Regions from separate parts of the Homo sapiens genome. Here all the other regions are linked to region 1. Evidence: promoter capture Hi-C in 16 types of primary human blood cells and fetal thymus (Javierre and others, 2016). All regions are on one chromosome and are shown on one strand. The core of a region is centred on a gene start or on the middle of the fragment in contact, and the rest is flanking DNA. Distances in the headings are between cores, read along the strand shown. Region 1 holds the start of ZDHHC22 (zDHHC palmitoyltransferase 22). Region 2 overlaps LRRC74A (leucine rich repeat containing 74A). Region 3 overlaps LRRC74A (leucine rich repeat containing 74A).

The links. The method cuts DNA at HindIII sites, captures the fragments that hold promoters and counts their contacts. A CHiCAGO score of 5 or more calls a contact.
Region 2: a fragment that was not itself captured here is called in contact with the fragment with the promoter of ZDHHC22 in region 1 in 1 of 17 cell types (neutrophils); the score reaches 6.2 in neutrophils.
Region 3: a fragment that was not itself captured here is called in contact with the fragment with the promoter of ZDHHC22 in region 1 in 1 of 17 cell types (neutrophils); the score reaches 5.1 in neutrophils.

What each region holds. Positions count from the first base shown.
Region 1 is chr14:77,140,152-77,143,347 of GRCh38, forward strand. ZDHHC22 (zDHHC palmitoyltransferase 22) reads right to left here and starts at 1,640. Exons shown (of 3, transcript NM_174976.2): 1 at 1,452-1,640. RefSeq lists enhancers at 31-594, 595-1,158, 1,253-1,754. The HindIII fragment of the contact is 23,253 bases long and covers 1-3,196 here.
Region 2 is chr14:76,853,372-76,856,535 of GRCh38, forward strand. LRRC74A (leucine rich repeat containing 74A) reads left to right here. Exons shown (of 14, transcript NM_001385106.1): 9 at 1-39. Among named protein-coding and RNA genes, the nearest start is that of LRRC74A, 29 kb to the left of the region's middle. The HindIII fragment of the contact is 1,324 bases long and covers 927-2,250 here.
Region 3 is chr14:76,829,395-76,832,444 of GRCh38, forward strand. LRRC74A (leucine rich repeat containing 74A) reads left to right here. Exons shown (of 14, transcript NM_001385106.1): 3 at 1,809-1,981. Among named protein-coding and RNA genes, the nearest start is that of LRRC74A, 4.5 kb to the left of the region's middle. The HindIII fragment of the contact is 214 bases long and covers 1,341-1,554 here.

The DNA of each region.
Region 1 (3,196 bases), core at 390-2,889:
TAGGAGGAGAAAGGGAAGGATTTGGGGTCGGGGGCAGGAGAATCAGCGGCACTTGACCTGCTGGAAATCCTGCTTCACACTCCCCTTTCTCCGTCCCTGCGTCCCCACCCACACACACATCTTGGGCAGCACTCAGGGACCTCACCAGGTTACCCAAGGCTCTTTGGAGGTATGTGTGCGTGAGGGACCACGATGTGTGTGTGTGTGTCCTTGTCTGTGACTCTGTACGTGTAATCTGTGTGCGCTTGAGTATCTGTATTTGTGTATGTATATATCTGCGTGTACAGACACGCAGCCTCTGCTATCTAGCTTTAAAAAAATCAATTGAAACAATCGATACACTCACACTCGCTCTCGGGCACCGGGTGAGGTGGGGGCGCAACCAGAATACCTGTGTCAGCGGGTCCTGGCCAGCACATCTCTCCAACGCTGGCTGCCCGGGCTATTTCTTTGCGAAGAGCGTTTTCATTTGAGGCGAAATTAAAATCCCCCCTTCGCGCCCGCCTCCCGCCCTCCTGCTGAGAGAAACCCAAACAACCCTCATGGCGCCGAAATCCTTTCCATGCCGACAAGCCCGCCCTGGGCGCACGAGTGGATGCTTGGCCAGCCTTTCCTGGGATCGACCCCGCCGCCGTGCTCAGCCCTCACCACGTCCCCATCCCACCCCACGCCTCACAGCCGGGGTTCCTGGCCAGCTTCGGAAGCCACCGAGAAATAGGATTCCGTGCGCCCGAGAGAACTTTTCCAGGGGCTAAGGAATCGGCCAGCCGGAGGCGCGAGAAAAGTTCTGGGAAGGCGGTTGCACCTAGGATGGGTGGATGCCACGGGGCCTCCGTCCAGGCTGTCCCGTCCGCACGGGTCGACTGGTCACCTTGGAATCCCCTTTGCAGGTCCCAGCGCCCCCCGGGAACCCGCAGCCTCCGCGGAGAGCGTGGGCCTCTCCCTACCGCTGGGGCGCAGCGCAGTGCACGCCTGAGGGTGGTCGCCGGGGGCTGGGCACGCCCCCAGTCCTGCGCCGCCGGGGGCTGCGGCGGTGCTGCCCACCCCAGAGAGCCCTCGGCCTGGGGCTCCGGCGAAGCAAGTGCCTTCCCGGCGCCGGTCGCCAGGGGGGCGCGGGAGCAGCCAGATGCGCCGCAGCGCTGGGAAGGCGGCGAAGGACAGGGGCTAGGGGAGTGAGGGGCGCTCGGCAGGCAGCCTCAGCCCTGGCCCTGCGCGGGAGAAGGGACAGCAGAGACCGCCCGTGGGGCCCCGGGGTGTAGGGAGCTGTCCGTTCAGCCCTGGCGCCCGCCTCGCCCGCGGCAGAGGGCGGCACAGCCGGAGCCTTGGAAAGACCGGCAGCGCCGGCAGCCGCGGGCTTCTCGGCCACTGCCTCCCGGACGCACGGGAAGCCGCCCCCCGCGCCGCCGCCGCCGCACTGCCGCCGTCGCAGAGGGGTGAGGAAATCAACTCACCGAGCTCTGGTCGCCGACAAGAGGAGCCCCGGACGCCGGCTCTCGCCCTGCCCGAGGCTGCAAAGTTGTGGACTCGGCCCGGCTGGCTCGCAGCCTGCGCTTCGCTTCGGGAACTGGGCAAGTAGCGGGGATGTGGGGAGGAGGGAGCGGGCAGCTGCTGGCTTCCCACTTGGGCGCCAGCGAGTAAGGGCCAGGAAGCGGCGGGGATGGCAGCTGGGCACCCCCCAGCCCCGCCACCCCTCCCTCCGCTCCTGGGGGCGGTGCTCTGGCCGCCAGTCTCAGCATCGTGGACTTGCCCCCTCCTCCCCTCTCGATTCCCCTTGAGCGGGCTGGGGCGCCCTGCCTGGTTTCAGCGCCCGTTCCAGCTGGGAGATTGGGATTCAGCCCTGATGTGGATTCTCCAGCCATCATCCTGCCCTTCCCTCTCGGCTAGGTCCCACGACCTTCCCTGCTCTCCACTCGGACTGAAGGAACCCTGGGGGCTTGAGAGGTCAGCTTGCCAGGGCAACACCCATGAAGATCAGCGTCATCTCCTCGGAAGGGCTGTGTACAGAGGGTTGGGAGTTGGGACTCTGGAGCCTGTCTACCTGGGTTTGAATATTCACCATTCACTACTGTGAGATCTCAGATTCCAGTTTCTTCGTCTGTAAATTCCAGTGTGATCTTAGATTCCAGTTTCCTCATCTGTGAAATAGAGATATGAGGGTTAAATGACAATCTATGTAAAACCCTTAAACAGGGCCTGCCCAGGGCAAGCACTGCTTGATTAGATCATAATTAGACACTACTTATCGGGCCCCTACTAGGTAGCAGGCATTGTGCTAAGCCTTTAGCATAAGATGCTTCCTTAATCCTCTCAGCCTGATCTGTGAAGCTGGCTGAGCCCCATTCTGGAGATGAGGAGGTTGAAGCTCAGAGAAGCTAAGTCTCATGTCTAAGGTCATACAGCCATTAAGTGACAGAGCCTGGACTTGAACCTGGTTCTAGCATTAATGCTCCTGCACTCAGCCTCTACACAGCCCAGCATCACCCTGGGACCCACGGGCAGCTCTGATTTGAGAGAAGGAAAGACAATGGGAGTTTATCCAGACACAGAGCTTGAACTTGGAGCTTCTTCTTTGAGCCTCACCCCCACCTTCTTATTTCTATTTCCTTCCCCTTCCAGGGCTCCGCTATTCTAAGGTGGGTACTGTGATGCGCCAAGAGGGTAGTGACACCAATGTGTATCAAACAGTGGGGGGTGGGGGGAGCAGAGCCTTAAAAACATCAAACACTGCAGGAATATTGGTGCCATCACCATCCTCAATTTCCTGGGTGTCGCAGCTCACCTACCTGCCCTGTTCCTCTCCTCTCGGTGATGGCATACTTAATAAATAAACATTTATTGCTTTCTCAACTGGCTGATTAAAACAAGAGCAATCCCTTGAAATGAGGGCCATATGCTGATCAGCTCAGCCTCTATTCTTGAATAACCACACACTGTTTCCTCTGTAATTTATCAGCATACATCAAAATAAAAAAGAGGCCAGGAAACCTTTTCACATTCTAAAAGGATCTGACATGTAAGTGAAAGAACAGTATATGCCACATGGTGGCCGTGAGCAGCTGGTAGCCTTGTGAGTTCCAGTGGCCACAGGACAGACATGGGGAGGCACACATGGCCCTTTTCCCTTCAGAGCAGCTTTGTCTCATAATCGTGGCCGTCTGGGCCCCTTTTCACAAGCTCTGTCTGCCTCTCACATGGG
Region 2 (3,164 bases), core at 339-2,838, 290 kb before region 1:
AAAGGACTGGAATCCAATGAAAGCCTCAGAGTTCTGAAGGTAGTCTTCAGCTGGAAAGGGTGTGTGTGTGTGTGTGTGTGTGTGTGTGTGTTTGTGTATGTGTTGGGATAAGTTGGGGGCTGCAGAGTACTGGAGAGAATAATTGGGAATATCTGTACTTCATATATGCATGTACTTTTTACCATCTCTTGACTGTAAATGCAGTGACCATTCTCTACTATAAAGCCAGTGTCACCCTCAGTGCTCCCTGGTACACTGCAGATCTTTCTAACAGGTCTTCCTTCCTCCCATCTGGGTCTCCTTCGGGATCTTCTCCACCTTCCTCCCATCTGGGTCTCCTTCAGGATCTTCTCCACATTGCCACCGGAGTGTGCTTTTTGTTTTGTTTTGTTTTGTTTTGAGACAGGGTCTGGCTCTGTCCCCCAGGCTGGAGTGCAGTGGTACAATCTTGGCTCACTGCAACCTCCGCCTCCCAGGTTCAAACCATCCTCCCACCTCGGCCTCCGAAAGTGCTGGGATTACAGGCATGAGCCACTGTGCCTAGCCCTCAGAATGTGCTTTTTGAACACAAATCTGACATCCATTCCCCTTCCCCCAGCCCCTCAGTCTCCTGTCTTTCAGCTTAGACCCCTGCATGGCTTCCTGTTGCTCAGATCCTGTTCGCTGAGCCCCAAGTGCCCCTCCAGCCTCAGTCCACCCGGTGCTCTCCCTTGCTCTGCACCCAAGACCCCCTGGTCTTCTCTCCACTCCTTTCCTCCTACTACAGAGGCTTGGCCACTCCGCCTCCACTTGCTTGCTGCTGGGATCCTCCGTCTAGGGGACCTGCTCCCAGAGCCCTGCTCCCTACTTCCCATGGAACTTGCTGCCCTTCCTAATTCCATGCATGTGAGGGCTCTTTGCTCGCCTGTCATCCCCTCAAATGTGAAAGCTTCATCAGAATGAAGACTGTGTTTGGGCCAGGTGCGGTGGCTTATGCCTGTAATCCCAGCCCTTTGGGAGGCCAAGGTGGGTGGATCGCTTGAGGTCACCAGTTTAAGACCAGCCTGGCCAACATGGTGAAACCTTGTCTCTACTAAAAATACAAAATTAGCCAGGCGTGATTGTGCATGCCTGTAATCCCAACTACTTGGGAGGCTGAGGCAGGAGAATCACTGAACCCAGGAGGCGGAGGTTGCAGTGAGCCGAGACCATGCCACTGCACTCCAGCCTGGGTGACAGAGCAAGACTCTGTCTCAAAAAAAAGAATGAAGACTGGTTTTGCCCATCATTAAACTCCTCATACCTAGTCCCTCATACCTAGCATAGTGTTGGGCACACTGTAGAAGCCCAGTGTGCTTCTGATGAATGAATGAATTAATGAATACATATTTCATTTTAAATTAATTTACTAGTAGATGCTAATTTATAATATAGATGCTATTGAGCAGTTGGAAAATAAATGAAAGGTGAGGACTTCTATTAATCATCCCCCTTTCTGGGGCACCTGCCAAGAGCCAGCTGTCGTTACTCATAGCCTCACCTGGTAATGTGGGCTCTGTTAGCCCCACTTGTCAGATGAGAAAACTGAGGCTGTGTGATTGCTTATGCCACACAAGTAGCAGGAGGCAGAGGGAAGCCTGCTGTACGTGGTTTTCCATGGCAACTCCAACTCCCTCAAGATGTGAGGGTGGTTGGAGAGACCACAGATGTGAGGGTCCTGAAGAAGGAAAGCAGTGAGGAGACAGTGAGGAAGGGGCTGCCATCTGAGAGGACAACCATGAGGAGCTGCTAAGAGGACAGGAGGAAGCCAGATTCTGACAGGCAGAAGGAGCACAGTGACTACAGACCAAACAGACTGGCCATCTAGTGACCAGGAGATCTGGGAGTCCCAGCTGGGGTGGAGCGGGGCCAGGCACAACTCAGACAGAGACTGACCCAGGCTGTGGGTGGCTCAGCCCCAGTGGCTGAGGAAGCCAGGGACAGTCTGAGAAACTGAATTTTAAAAGATTAAGCAGTTGCCTCAGCAAAATGGCAATAGAGGTCTTTGCTGTTTTGTGGGTATACATGGTTTAAACCATTTTTTACCGCTTTTCTCATTTTTCCACAATGACCATATGTAATGAATATATTTCAATTTTCTAAAATGTTTTAGAAGTAAAAGAGAAAAGTTTAAGACAAAACTCTTAGTTTGGCCATCATGGAGACCACATCAACTTTGCCACAGGAATTATCTATGGGTCTCCACATCCAGCCCTGATGCCCCTTGCCCTAAGCTTGGAAAAATAAGGAATTCCCATTAGGAAGTGAGTCCAGCAAAGGATTCCAGATGCTGAGCTCCACGAGGTCCAGGCCCTAGTCTGCATTTTCTCACTGGAGTACATCAGAGCCTGGGACGCAGCTGACATATACTAGGGGCTCAGTAAGAGTTTTGGCTGCCTCATGTTGAAGCCACTTAGCTGAAAGCCTTCAATAATAAGAACTATTGTTCATTGACAGCATACTGCATACCAGGCACTTGTTTTAATGCTTTGCCTGAATTGATATGGTAAGTCCTCAGAGCAGCCATAGGTGATAAGTACAAAGTGATCAGGGAATTAATGCAAGGCCAGGCAGCTGGTAAGCAGAGCCACCAGGCTCCACAGTCCCTTCCATTAACTTCCATCCATGCTTCAGCAGCTCCTAGCTCCACTGGGATAATGTCCTTGTTCCTTCTCCAAGCCTATAAGGTTCTCCATGATGTGGCCCATCCCAGCTCTGTGGCCTCATTCTCTCTGCTTCTGCTCACAAACATCTCTTGCTGTTTCACACCCCTATGCCTTTGCACTTGCCTACTCTTTTCTTCTTTGGTGAATCTTGTTTCCTCCTCTGGTTTTGCCCCCCTTCCTCAGACCTCACTAATCCTCATTAGTCCTGCAAGGCTTAGCTCCATGTTCCCCTCCCCTATGCTGCATGCTCCTTTCCTTGCTCCTGCAGTACCCAGGTGTACCTCTGTCACTGCTGTCATAACACTTCTGATGCTATTGGCTTGTTTGCCTGTCTCCCCCAATTACAGTGTTAAGTTACCCGAGGGCAGAAACCTTGCCATGTCTGCCTGTGTGTCCCTCAGTGCTTAGTGCAGTAGCTGGCATATGGCAAGCCTCTAATTAATATGTGCTGGATGGATGGATGGATGGATGGATGGATGG
Region 3 (3,050 bases), core at 198-2,697, 310 kb before region 1:
CCCAGGCAGCTTGTTGCTCTTTTTCTGGCTTCTTGTCCACTTCAAGTCTGTTGTTAACGTTGCTTCTAACACCCAACTTCATTCACATGGTTGGAGAAGGTAGCAAAGGACAACACTGGATGTTTGGCCAAAGGGTCCTGTTTCTATCTCATTCCCCCATCTCTTCCCCTGACTGCAGCAAGTGCTAACACTGTCGCAAGCTGCCCATAAAATATAACAATAGGGAACACAGCTAGAAAGGGTCAGCATCAAACCCAGCAGAATTAGTCCCAGGGACAAAACCTGGGGGTTACCTTCCCTGCTTTTGCCAACAGGAACCTCTAATGGCTGAATGTGGCACCAAAAACTCTGTCCTGAATGGTAACTCGGGGCTCAGCAGCCCTGGCTCCTGGTGCTCCTGCTGTGGGTGCTGAGACACTGGGAATGGGCAGGGAGGGCATGGGAAATGGGCCAGCTGGGAGCAGTGCTGGCTGTGAGTCTAGAGAAAAGGGGGAGACGAGCCTGGTTTGCTCACTTGCCATGAGCTGTTTTTCTCCACAACAGTGGTTCTCACCTGGAAGCAATTTTGCACCAAGGGGACATTGGGCAAACTAGGGGAGGGGGGTTGCTACTGGCATCTTGTGGGTCCACGCCAGAGATCCTACTAAACACCCTACTATGTATAGGACAGCCCTCAGAACAGAATTATCCAGCCCAAAATACCTGCAGTGCTGAGGCTGAGAAGCGCTGCTGTACAAGCGTCCCAAAGAGAAGTCTAATTTGTAGTTGTGCTTGCAAAATCAGCTTCCCTGTAAAGCACTTGTCCTTTCACCAACAAAGCTCCCATTGTCAGCCTTAGATTGTTTGGAGGGGGAGGGGGTTGGCCAAAGGCCCTGGGATCTGAAGGAAAAACAGATGCAGACATAGACGCCAGCTGGCCTCAGGAAGCCCTGCCATAGGCTGGACTTGCCTAATGAGGACACAGCTGTGGGGCACCCAGAATCCAGGGAGGCCCGATGCCCAGTGACCATGGGCCAGGCTGGCCTAAAGCCTAAGAAATAAAGGCCCCCAGGGGTTAGAATGGAAAGGTGCAGTCCCCACTTCTGTTAGCTGGTTTTAGCATTGACCAACTGTGTGTTATTTGAGGCTAGGTTTGTCGTCAATAAAGCAAGGATGACAGTCCTTTTTATAAGGAAAATGACATGCAAGCTTTTGAAAGAAGAAAGACCATTCACATGCAAGCATGCTTGTTTCTCGCTGATGTGGAGGTCTTTCCATATTCACTGGTTTGCCATTTTGAGAAGTCCACTCTGTCCTAGTTGGGCTTTTTAAATGTTGGTGCCTCTCTAAGTCTTTGGTGAAGCTTTTTTCATGACTCACAACCTTGTGATAGTGGCGGTGAAACTAAAAGTGAAATGAAGATTCCATCAACCATCAAAAGTCATCCGCGTTTGGCCTTTCAGAATTGTCCAAAGGTGGGCAAGAGGGCTTGGGCCTTCTATGTCCTTGATGACCAGTCACTGGATGTGGCCAACCTGGGCAGGTGGGGTGAAGCCCACTGCTCACTTCTAGGAAAGCTTCTGGCCTAAAACCATGGGCCTCATCTCCTACCCAAAGGGAAACATTCATCTGGGACTTTCTGGAGTTAGAGTCTCCCTCTCCCACCATGGACTGACTTCCCAGACAGGAGCAGGCTTCTTAGCACATACCCACAGGGAGAGATCCTCTGGCAGAGGACAGTCTAGACATGAGTGAATGTCACTGGGGCTAGAGGGGAGAGAAGGCAAAGGTGGAAGAGAAATCCTACTTCAGCCCATCTTTCTCTGCAGATGATGAGAAATTTTTCACCACTGGACAAAAGGAGCTGTACCTGGAGGCCTGCAAGCTGATGGGTGTAGTGCCTGTCTCCTACTTCATTCGGAACATGGAGGAGTCCTACGTGAACCTCAACCACCACGGCCTGGGCCCCAGGGGTACCAAGGCTATTGCTATAGCCCTGGTGGTGAGCATGCTAGTGGGAGCTCATGAAACCTGGAGGAGGTGGAGGGTTGGCAGAGTGGTAGGCCCAAGATTCAGAGGGCCCCTCCTATGGAGCCTAAACCCACACTTTATGCCCTTATGCCACACTGCCCTGGGCTCTGCTTGGCTGCCAGATGATTTATTTAGCTCCTGGTAGGAGGCTACTAGCAACCTGGGCCTTGGAAGTCTATGCTCCTTGCAGAGACTTTGAGGAGAAAAAAATAGAAGTCTATATACTCTTTGCTGTTCAGGAAGCAAAGGCACCAGCCCCTGGGCCCAGGAAAAGTGACCAGGCCCAATTATCAATGTAAGAGCACCAACAAAATGCCAGCCTGGGTCTTCATTCCAAAGCTCACTTTTGCTGTAAATGGGTTTACTACTGACCCATTCCATTCAATGTCTGCCTTGTGCAACATTATATTTCATAAAGACCACGGTGTAGAGTAAATCAAGTTTTCCCACAGAAATAGTGTTATCTCTCAGCTTGGTATGACCAAACAAGGACTTGACCTTGAGTTCATCATGACTTTATATAATTATAACTGATTTACACACAAAACTGACTCCCATCACAGAAAAACAGAAAACCTAACAACTGCCTGTCAGCATAGCACTGTTTGTCCACTTAGAAAAGTAAACAGAAAATTCCATTATAAAAAAGCTCAGTAAGGTAGAGAGGTAGATGTGTCTTTAGAGGTGACATTTAAAATTGGTAATAGTTAAATTATCCATGGAAAGAATGAACAGAGAAAAATAAAGAGGACTTACAGGACCACCAGGTTCATATGCTCACTGTGCAGTAAGGACCAATACACTGAAACAGCAGAGTTTGCAGCAAAGAAAGAGTTTAATGATCACAGGGTGGCCAAGCAAGGAAATGAAAGGAACCCTTCCATCCATTTCCCTAAGGAGTTCTGGTCTAGAGTTGTTTGTTTGAGACAGGTTTTCTCTGTTGTCCAGTCTGGAATGCAGTAGCATGATCATGGCTCACTGCAGATTTGACCTCCTGAGCTTAAGTGATCCTCCTGCCTCAGCCTCTTGATTATTTAGGA